Linked DNA regions of Homo sapiens: region 2 is linked to region 1. Evidence: promoter capture Hi-C in human tissues and cell types (Jung and others, 2019). All regions are on one chromosome and are shown on one strand. The core of a region is centred on a gene start or on the middle of the fragment in contact, and the rest is flanking DNA. Distances in the headings are between cores, read along the strand shown.

The links. The method cuts DNA at HindIII sites, captures the fragments that hold promoters and counts their contacts. A contact is called where the count stands out against the background at its distance.
Region 2: a fragment that was not itself captured here is called in contact with the fragment with the promoter of ACOT7 in region 1 in 1 of the 25 tissues and cell types used here (pancreas).

The regions. Positions count from the first base shown.
Region 1 is chr1:6,391,401-6,397,099 of GRCh38, reverse strand. ACOT7 (acyl-CoA thioesterase 7) reads left to right here and starts at 3,333. Exons shown (of 9, transcript NM_007274.4): 1 at 3,333-3,843. The coding sequence starts at 3,701. RefSeq lists enhancers at 1,172-1,696, 2,449-2,959, 2,960-3,472, 3,473-3,984 and silencers at 3,213-3,662, 3,933-4,022. The HindIII fragment of the contact is 35,573 bases long and covers 1-5,699 here.
Region 2 is chr1:6,778,018-6,783,716 of GRCh38, reverse strand. No RefSeq gene overlaps it. Among named protein-coding and RNA genes, the nearest start is that of CAMTA1-DT, 4.1 kb to the left of the region's middle. The HindIII fragment of the contact is 3,443 bases long and covers 699-4,141 here.

The DNA.
Region 1 (5,699 bases), core at 2,084-4,583:
TTTGAACAATGAAGTGTCTGTAATGCTCAGAGGAGCAAGCACACCTATACAGGGAGCATGGGGTCTTAGTAAATTCTTGCTGCACTCATAGCTGGGGGAAGAGCAGTATAGAGAAACAGAAGGTTTGAGGAGGGAAGAGGAAGAAAGGCCCTACCTCAGCCTGCCAAGTAGTCCTCACAACGGTCAGGAAAGTATTTATCACCCCCATATCATAGGTAAAGAAACTGCCAGGCTGGGAACAGTGATGCACACCTGTAATCATAGCACTTTGAGAGGCTAAGGCAGGTGGATCACTTGAGCCCAGGAGTTCAAGACCAGCTTGGGCAATGTGGTGAGGCTCCTTCTATACAGAAAAGTACAAAAATTAGCTGAGCATGGTGGCACATGCCTGTGGCTCCAGCTACTCAGGAGGCTGAGGTGGGAGGGCTGCTTGAGCTCTGGAGGCAGAAGCTGCAGTGAGCAGGGATTGTGCCACTGTACTCCAGCCTGGGTGACAGAGCCAAGACTCTGTCTCAAAAGATTTAAAAAAAAAAAAAAAAAAAAAAAGGAAACTACCTTGCCTGAGGCTCTAAATCTAGTTACTGCTTCCAACCATTTCAGGATTCAATTGGGAAGAGGTGGTGTTTGAACAGGCTTGGGGGCCCTTGATGCTTGCATCAACTTAATTCTCACTAAAAAACAAAAGTCTGCGTCCGGACGAGGTGGCTCAGGCCTGTAATCCCAGCACTTTGGGAGGCTGGGGTGGGTGGATCACCTGAGGTCAGGAGTTCAAGACCAGCTTGGCCAACATGGTGAAACCCTATCTGTGAGAGGTGACAGCATGCTGGCAGTCCTCACAGCTCTCGCTCGCTCTCAGCGCCTCCTCTGCCTGGGCTCCCACTTTGGCGGCACTTGAGGAGCCCTTCAGCCTGCCGCTGCACTGTGGGAGCCCCTTTCTGGGCTGGCCAAGGCCGGACCCGGCTCCCTCAGCTTGCGGTGTGGTGTGGAGGGAGAGTCGTGGGCGGAACCGGAGCTGCGAGCGGTGCTTGCGGGCCAGGGCGAGTTCCAGGTGGGCGTGGGCTCGGCGGGCCTCGCACTCGGAGCCGCGGCCGTCCCCGCCGGCCCCGGGCAGTGAGGGGCTTAGCACCTGGGTCAGCAGCTGCTGTGCTCAATTTCTCGCAGGGCCTTAGCTGCCTTCCCCCGGGGCAGGGCTCGGGACCCGCAGCCCGCCATGCCTGAGCCTCCCCCCACTCCATGGGCTCCTGTGCGGCCCGAGCCTCCCCAATGAGCACCGCCCCCTGCTCCACGGCACCCAGTGCCATCGACCACCCAAGGGCTGAGGAGTGTGGGCACACAGTGCGGGACTAGCAGGCAGCTCCACCTGCAGCCCCAGTGCGGGACCCACTGGGTGAAGCCAGCTGGGCTCCTGAGTCTGGTGGGGACATGGAGAACCTTTATGTCTAGCTAAGGGATTGTAAATACACCAATCGGCACTCTGTATCTAGCTCAAGGTTTGTAAACACACCAATCAGCACCCTGTGTCTAGCTCAGGGTTTGTGAATGCACCAATCAACACTCTGTATCTAACTACGCTGGTGGGGACTTGGAGAACCTTTGTGTCGACACTCTATCTAGCTAATCTGGTGGGGACATGGAGAACCTTTGTGTCTAGCTCAGGGATTGTAAACACACCAATCAGCACCCTGTCAAAACAGACCACTCTGCTCTACCAATCAGCAGGATGTGGGTAGGGCTAGATGAGAGAATAAAAGCAGGCTGCCCGAGCCAGCAGTGGCAACCCACTCTGGTCCCCTTCCACGCTGTAGGAGTGTTGTTCTTTCGCTCTTTGGGTCCACACTGCCTTTATGAGCCGTTAACATTCACTGTGAAGGTCTGCAGCTTCACTCCTGAGCCAGGGAGACCACGAACCCACCAGAAGGAAGAAACTCCAGATGCGCCACCTTAAGAGCTGTAACACTCACCACGAGGGTCCGCGGCTTCATTCTTGAAGTCGGTGAGACCAAGAACCCACCAATTCTGGACACATCTGTACTAAAAATACAAAAATAAGCCAAACGTGGTGGTGCATGCCTATGGTCCCAGCTACTCAGTGTGGTTGAGGCAGGAGAATTGCTTGAAACTGGATGGCAGAGGTTACAGTGAGCTATCACACCACTGCATTCCAGCCTGGGCGACAGAACGAGACTCTATATCAAAAAAAGAAAACAGGCCAGGCGTGGTGGCTCACGCCTGTAATCCCACCACTTTGGGAGGCAGAGGCGGGCAGATCACAAGGTCAGGAGATCAAGACCATCCTGGCTAACACAGTGAAACCCCGTCTCTACTAAAAATACAAAAAATTAGCCGGGCGTGGTGGCAGGCGCCTGTAGTCCCAGCTACTTGGGAGGCTGAGGCAGGAGAATGGCGTGAACCTGGGAGGCGGAGCTTGCAGTGAGCTGAGATTGCACCACTGCACTCCAGCCTGGGCAACAGAGCAAGACTCCGTCTCAAAAAAAAAAAAAAAAAAAGAAAACAGAAAAACAAAATTCTTAGTATAAAAGTCTTGAAATCACAGAGTTCTGACTTTGACTGCCCCTGCTTCTGGGAGCTACAGATCATGCTGTGGGCTGCCTCCACGGTCTGGTAACTCAAGGGTGACCGGGGTGAGGCACAGTTCCTTCAGAGCTACCTAGCTGAGTGTAAATGGGTTGTTCAAATTGCACTAGGGAGCCGGAGTTGCGTGGGTTTTAATTTAAAGATGTAAGTACAAATCTATGTGCATTGTAGAAAATTCGGAAAAGGTCCAACTGCCTAGCAAGTAAAAAGCTGTCATTCCAGCACGTGGGGGGTGACCGCTTCTCCCTTCTTGGGTGTTTTTTGGTGGATTTTTTTTGGTGACCCCGACTGGCCTAGACTCCATTCAAGGGCACATCTTGTGCAGTAAAACACGCATGTTTCAGGGCTCCTCACTGCAACACGTGCACCTCCAGGCTGGCGCTCAGCGCTCCCAGTAAAAGCTGCAGGCGGCGGTGTAGATAGTCGCCGGCCTTTCCTCCTCCCCACCTCGTGACGCTTTGTGCTGCGGAAGCAAAGGCCCGTTCCATTCCCCGTGTCTTCCCAGCAGCCGCCACCAATGCTCCTTTCTAGGAAACAGCCTTCCATTCTCTCTTAGGGCCGATCTTAGCGAGAGCCGCGATGCGGGCGACTGGTGCCGGGGTGGGTTGGGGGCGGGGGTGGGAATCAGGCCCCACTGCCAGGAGCCCGGGCCGCGCCTTCCGCTCTGACCTCATCCGGCCGCCCAGGCACTGGGCGCGGCAGCGAATCGGCGGCGCGGGCGGCCGGGAACGCCCAGCACAAATATTTACCGCCGCGCGGAGAGTGAGGGCCCAAGTCCGCCCTGCTCCGCCACTTAGGCCGCCCCAGACGCTTCCCTCGGGGCTGCCACCGGGTCGGGCGCGGCTGCCGCGGCTAGCGGGCCTTCCCCGCACCGGCGCGGCCCAACCGCCACCGAACCTTCTGGAAGCGGCGGCTGCCTGGGCCCCCACGCCGCCAGAATCGTACGCCCGCGCGAGCTCTCTGCAGCCTTGGCGGCCTGGGAGGCGGGGCTCGGGGTGGGGCCGGCGCGGGGGCGGGGTCGGCGCGGGGAGGCCGCGTTCGATTGCCCCCGGCGCGCAGGCCCCGCCTCACCAGCCCCATCGCTCCACCTCTGCCCTCCCCCTTTATGGCGCGGCCCGGGCTCATTCATTCCGCGCCGGGCCTGCCAGACACCTGCGCCCTTCTGCAGCCGCCCGCCGCATCCGCCGCCGCAGCCCCCAGCATGTCGGGCCCAGACGTCGAGACGCCGTCCGCCATCCAGATCTGCCGGTAAGAGAGGGCCCGCGCGCAGCCTGCAGCGGCCAGGCGCGCCGGTCACCGCCCCAGGCCTGCCCCGCTTGGCTCTGTGGTCCCCACCCGCCGAGGCCGCCCCCGCCCGCCGATTCCCCGCACGGCCTTCCGCGCCGCCGCCCCGGACGCCCGCCCGGCCGGGATGCGACTCGCGATGCCGCACAAGCCGGGCGGCCCCCGCCCGCCTCCAGCCGGCTCCTCCTGGCCGCATCTCCAGGGCGGCGGCCGCGCCACGGGCCGTTTGGGCGAGAAAGCCAGGCAGGGACGGGGCGGGCGGAGGTCAATGCACAGCTCCAGAGCCCGGCGACCGGCGCCCGTGGGCCGCCCCGCCTCGGGCCTCGCCCGAGCATCCCGGAGCCTCAGCCCCGTGGTCCTGCTTAGCCTCCTCGAGGATTCGGGATCATTACCTCGGCGGTTGTGCTGCGCTAACCAAAGCCCCCAGAGGTGGAGGGGAGGTGCCCAGAGCCGCGCGAGCCCCTCGGTGGGTGCCCCTGTGGGAGGAGGTTGCAGAGCTACCGTCTTCAGTGCACTGCTTCGGTTTGGGGGAGGGCAGGTGTTGAAAGGAAGAACAGATAATACTGTCTACCTCTAACAGTTTACTATGAAGAAAAGGGAATCAGTGGTCTGTTGGGCCTGAAAGCATCTTACACAATAGAGGCAAAGGGTTGTCCTTCTAGAGCACCCCCTCTTCTTCCACCAGGTACTGAGTAGATAGATGCAGGCCCCCAGAGGAAGCTGGAGGCTGGAGATCATGAACAAGCTCATTTCCCATAGGAGGTGGGGAGGGCAGCCTGAAGGTTACTCTGCAGTTCTCTTCGGCAGAATCGGAAGCAGCAGGCTGGCATTTGTGCATGAGCTAAGTGAGGACAAGGAGTCTAGGTTTTCAGCCACTGCACACAGGCTCTGTGGCCTGCGACCGGTCCTATCCTGCTTGATGAACTACCAGGAGTGAGAGCTGCTTTCTGTTTTGGTAGTGGGTTCCTCACATTTGGGGGTTGGGCATCACAGACTGACCTTGGGCTCAAGCCAAGTCCAATAGAAGCAAGTTACTTTCCTGTAGATGTTGACATCTCCAGGAAGGCTGGGCATATAGCAAGTCCTGGGTCTATGGCGATTCTTGACTCTCAGTCTCATCTTCTGGCCTGGTCGAGGGCCTCTCCTTACCTCAAGGTCGGTTTTGACTTTTCCAGAGGGGGAACGTCTTTGGGGGAGCCCTGCCCCTTTGACTTTGGCTCTGTGGCTGTTCTGGTCCCATCGACTCTGGAGGTGGGGAAAGCGGGGCAAAAAAAAAAAAGGAAATAACTGGAGACAGACAGCCTGCATCAGGTTCCTGAATCAGCTCTGCTGAGTATTGGCTGGGAAACTTGGGCTCCATGGTTTGCAAAGAGCTTATACCTGTCTCATCCCACTTGGTTTGCCCAATTCCCTGGGAGGTTGATGGTCGGTAGTGCCACCCTTACCTGTGTGGAGGAGGAAATGGCAGTTTTGGGAGTTGAGTAACTGTGTAAGGTCATCCTGCTCCAGGAGATCCAGGGACAGCCCCTGCCCAAGTCTTCTGACTCCAGATCCAGTATTCTTCCCACCCCTCTCCTGAATAAAGGAAACCTTGATTTAAATCTTCCCGTGGAAGGCTGGCCTTTTATTTACTTCTTCAGGGTGGTGAATAGCCAATTTATACATGTTGTCTTTTTTCACCCAGCTTCTAACAGTTACTAGATTTTTTGTTTTTTGAGACAGAGTCTCACTCTGTCACCCGGGCTGGAGTGCAGTGGCCCGATCTCAGCTCACTGCAACCCCTGCCTCCTGGGCTCAAGTGATTCTTGGGCCTCAGCCTC
Region 2 (5,699 bases), core at 1,171-3,670, 390 kb before region 1:
TTAGTATATTCCTTTCGAAAAGCAATTTTACAGTATGTATTAAAAGCCATAAAAATGTCTGCATCTTTTGACCCAGTGATCTTACTTCTGGGAATCTGTTCTAAGGAAATAACACTAAATGCCAGAAAAGCTGTATGTGTGAAGGTATTCTTCACAGGATCACTGTACTTAACTACAACAAAAAATTGGGAGCATCCTACATGTGCTAATATTGGGTATTTAGTAAATTGTGTTACATCTACACAGTGGAACATTATGGTAGTTGTAGACATCAGAAACAGAAAATCACCCATTGCTAGATAGAGGGGGCAATACCCAAAATTATGGTGTTCATTTATGAGGTGAGATGATAGGCTAAAAAAACTGCATTTTAAAAAAGACCGATACAGGCCGGGTGCAGTGGTTCACGCCTGTCAATCCTAGCACTTTGGGAGGCCAAGGTGGGCAGATCACTTGAAGCCAGGAGTTCGAGACCAGCCTGGCCAGCATGACAAAACCCCGTCTCCACTAAAAATATAAAAATTAGGTGGGCAAGGTGGCAGGCGCCTGAGGTCTCAGCTACTTGGAAGGCTGAGGCAAGAGAATTGCTTGAACCCAGCGGGCAGAGGTTGCAGTGAGCCAATATCGCACCACTGCACTCCAGCTTGGGTGACAAGAGCAAGACTCCACCTCAAAAAAAAAAAAAATAGACTGATAACATACACCAAATAAATGACGTATGGGGGATTATAAGTGAGTTTTTTTTAATTGCCTATTTTCTATAATATAGCTGTTTTTGTTGTTGTTTTTTGGTTTTTTTTTTGTTTTGTTTTTTTGAGATGGAGTTTCACTCTTGTTGTCCAGGCTGGAGTTCAATGGCGCAATCTCGGCTCACCGCAACCTCTGCCTCCCGGGTTCAAGCGATTCTCCTGCCTCAACCTCCAGAGTAGCTGGGATTACAGGCATGCGCCACCATGCTCAGCTAATTTTGTATTTTTAATAGAGACAGGGTTTCTCCATGTTGGTCAGGGTGGTCTCAAACTCCCAACCTCCAGTGATGCGCCTGCCTCAGCCTCCCAAAGTGCTGGGATTACAGGCATGAGCCACCACGCCTGGCCTCTATGTTACTTTTATCATTAAAACACTCATTTAAATTGAAAGAAAGGTGAATAAAGTTGAGTGTCTTCCTTCAAGAGACTCCCAACTTGGCCAGGTTCACAAACATAAGCAGCAGCAGGACAGGTGCGATGGGAACACCGGAGAAGGTCACAAACATCACCTGGGCCTCAACACCATCACCATTGAAATTACCTTAGCCTCAGGCCACAACAGTGGTTCTCAAAACAGTGGTTCTCTAGGGACCTTGGTCGAGCAGAGGGAGCCCCAAGACTCAAGGGACCCAAAAGTCAAAACTTTTTTAGACAGGGTCCTGCTCTGTCGCCCAGGCTGGAGTGCAGTAGTGCCATCAAAGCTCACTGTAGCCTCGAACTCCTGGGCTGCAGTAATCCTCCCACCTCAGCCTCCCCGGTAGCTAGAACCACAAGCATGCACCACCATGCCCAGCTAATTTTTAAGTTTTGTAGAGACAGGGTCTCACCTTGTTGCCCAGGCTGGTCTCAAACTCCTGAGCTCGAGTGATCCTCCCACCTCAGCCTCTTGAAGTGCACGGATTACAGGCATAAGCCACCACACCTGACTTCAGAACTATTTTTATAGCAATGATATGTCAATTTCTCCCAACACTGCACTCTGTGTGCAGTGTTTTCCAGAGGCTGCAAGATACGTGATCTCACAACAGGCTGAATGCAGAAGATTCAGAAGCAGAGAAGAATCCAGCAGTCTTCTACTGTCAGATATTAAAGTGATTTGCAAAACTAAAACAATCTCACACTTACCACTAATTTTATTTTAGAAAATGTAGGTATTTCTCATAAAAATAGGATTTATGTTGACATGTAATGGGTTTATTCTCTTTTTTGTTGTTCTTTTGAGATAGGGTCTCACTCTGTTGCCCAGGCTGGAGTGCCGTGCAATCAAGGCTCACTGCAGCTTTAACCTCCTGGGCTCAAGCAATTAGCCTCTTGAGTAGCTAGGAATACAGGTGGGCGCCACCATGCCCACCTGTATTTTTTGTAGAGATGAGGTTTTGCCACGTTGTCCGTGATGGTCTCCAACGGAGTCTTACTCTGTTGCCCAGGCTGGAGTGCAGTGGCACGATCTCGGCTCACTGAAACCTCTGCCTCCCGGGTTCAAGCGATTCTCCTGCCTCACCTCTTGAGTATCTGGGATTACAGGCACCCGCCACCATACCTGGCTAATTTTTGTATTTTTAGTAGAGACGGGGTTTCACCATGTTGGTCAGGCTGGTCTCAAACTCCTGACCTCGTTATCCGCTGGCGTCAGCCTCCCAAAGTGCTGGGATTACAGGCGTGAGCCACCGCGCCCAGCTTGAATCCTTAAATTTTAAGTGTGGAAAAAGATCTTGAGACTCAAGAGTTTGGGAACCACTGGGCTAGAGAATGAGATCTTTTTGGGGCTGGCTGGTTGGTGTTTCTGTTTGCTTGGGAGGGTAACCAAGAGATGGGCATTTCAAGTAAAGGAAGCAGCTTGCATTACTAAATGAGCCCATTTAGAAAAGAGAGTTGGAAGATAACGCTCGATGTACCAATCTCGGAATCCTTGCCCATTTTGGCCCTAATGTCCTTCAAGGAAAGAATTTTACTGTCCAGAAACAGAACATATAAGGGAAATAGTGGGAATATTAAATTGTTACTTTTTGACCCCAAAGAGGTGCAAAAGAGGCTTCTTCCTGGTCAGCTTTCCAAAGTAAAGTGGCTGTTTATATTACTGGTGGTGATAAAAATAAAAGTGCTTGGACTTGCTTCCTTAAATTGGAAGTTACCGAAGCTTCCATATTACTGGATTGGGAGAGGAAAGCATGGAGTAAACCCATTTCAGAAGCTTAAACACTTAGAAGCTCAGGCCGGGCACAGTGGCTCACACGTGTAATCCCAGCACTTTGGGAAGCCAAGGCGGGTGGATCACGAGGTTAGGAGTTCAAGACCAGCCTGGCCAAGATGGTGAAACCCCATCTCTAACTAAAAATAAAAATTTAGCTGGGCATGGTGGCACGCGCCTGTAATCCCAGTTACCGGGGAGGCTGAGGCAGGAGAATTGCTTAAACCTGGGAGGAGGAAGTTGCAGTGAGCCAAGATTATGCCACTGCACTCCAGCCTGGAAGACAAAGCGAGACTCCGTCTCAAAAAAATAAAAGAGAAGCTCATCATCCCAAGCTTATTTTACCCCTGCACAGGGCAACAAAAAACCTGTGCCTCCTTTAGCCACCAAGGGGCTGCATGGTTAAAAGTAATAATATTCAAAAGTTCCATTTCCAAAAAGTTTCTCCCCTTGTCTTTAACTATTTTTTTAATTTTGAGATAATTAGATTCACATGCAGTGATAAGAAATCATACAGAGAGCTCCTATGTCCCCTTACCTTTTCAAGATGAAACAATGAAAACTTGTGGACTTTGTTGGAACCAACCCTTCACCAGATGGTCCCTGTTTTCCTATCCTGCAAATGGTCACCTTTCCTCTTCTCTGCATCCCAATTACGTCAGGCATTATAATCTCAGAATGTCTACTGTTAATATGCAAGAGTAAAGATTTGTTGGATACCCCAAATATAATGAGATATTTGGGCCTAGTAGGCCTGAATTTCAACTTACTTGAAATATCGGCCAGGTGAGATGGCTCATGCCTGTAATCCCAACGCTTTGGGAGGTCGAGCTGGGCAAATCACTTGAGGCCAGGAGTTTAAGACCAGCCTGGGTAACATGGCAAAACCCTATCTCTACTAAAAATATAACAGTTAGCAAGGCGTGGTGGCGCATGCCTGTAGTCCCAGCTACTCAGGAGGTTCAGGTACAAGAATCGCTTGAACCCAGGAGGCAGAGGTTGCAGTGAGCCAAGATCCAGCCACTGCACTCCAGCCTGGGTGACAGAGCAGACGTCTGTCTCAAAAAATAAAAATAAAAAAATATCATTTGAACACGAAAGGGAAAGGCTTTGTGGCCCAGGAATCTGTTGAAATTTTGAAATGAATCTGTAGTTTCATTTGTTCAGTATTTACTGACAGCAGTAGGTCTGAGAACCAACCACACCACGAATGACAGTTTTGTTTTCCTTTTAGCAATTAAAACCTAGAACAGACCATTATCTTTTTTCATTGGGGTTTCAGGAGATATTATTTAAGCAATAGTTATAATCATAATACTTGCCCTCATCATCCAGCTATTACATAAAACACGCCCAAGTGCACTTGCTCTCCAGAGACCCTCCTTGGAGTGATACCTAAATGCCTTCAGTGGAATGTATCTCACCTTCATACACTACTTTTAAGAATCAGTCCAGTTTTTTCTGGACTTTCCCTTTGAAACTGGAGGCTTTCCACTCCCTCTTGAGCCTTCTGGTATTACAGCCTGATAGTTTTTATTGCATTTGAACCCATGATCAAAGAAATGGTTCTTTTCTTTTTGTTTTGGTTTTTCTTTGGTGGAAGGGGACAGAGTTTCACTCTGTCACCCAGGCTGAAGTGCAGTGGCACGATCTCGGCTCACTGCAACCTCTGCCTCATGGGTTCAAGAGATTCTCCTGCCTCAGCCTACCGAGTAGCTGGGACTACAGGCGTGTGCCACCACGCCCAGCTAATTTTTGTATTTTTAGTAGAGACGGGGTTTCACCATGTTGGGCAGGATGGTCTCGATCTCTTGACCTTGTAATCCTCCCACCTCGGCCTCCCAAAGTGCTCACCCCTCACAGGTGTGAGCCACCACGCCCGGCAGAAATGGATCTTTTCTAAAGGGAGAAAAGGTTGGAGAGATTGGGCTTTGCTGGTTCAGATGGACAAATACAAAGAACTTCCTGACCACGGACATTAATGCATTTCGTAGACCAGGATCACCCCTCTACTTCCTGAGACCCAGAGAGACCTCAGTAGTGGAACCCCCCGAAATCTCTGTATAGAGAAAGCTTGGGGCAGTAATCTGATTGGAGGGAGGGGCCAGGGGACTCTAGCATCTGCACAGCAAACCCACTTGCACTCCATGCAGCTTAGGGAGATTGTAAGACTGCTCAAGTCAAGTTTTGTTTTTTTGTTTTCTTATTTACGCCACACTTTCAAATGTAGTTTCTTTTGACTCTCAGTCTTCCCAGGAAACTTTGTTTAGTTGTTGAAAGTAAAATGACCTATCAAAGTGCCTGACGGGAAACGCTGCTGAGTTGTCCCATCATAGTCTTTGGAAACCACTGAGGAGCACCCAAGGAAAACCAGACCGCTACCATCTACGGGTATAAATGAAAAGGGTGTGGGCGCAGAGGCATTTCACCATCATTAGGCTTTCCATTTTTCAAACTGGACAAGCAATTTATTTTTTCTTTAAGTATTAAGCTGTGGGATATTATGCAGCCATTTAAAAAATGGAGGTATGGCCAGGTGCGGTGGCTCACGCCTGTAATCCCAACACTTTGGGACGTCAAGCCGAGCAGATCACTGGAGGTCAGGAGTTTGAGACCAGCCTGGCCAACATGGCAAAACCCCGTTTGTACTAAAAATGCAAAAATTAGCTGGCATGGTGACATGCACCTGCAATCCCAGCTACTCAGGAGGCTGAGGCACAATTGCTTGAACTGGAAGGCGGAAGTTGCAATGAACCGAGATC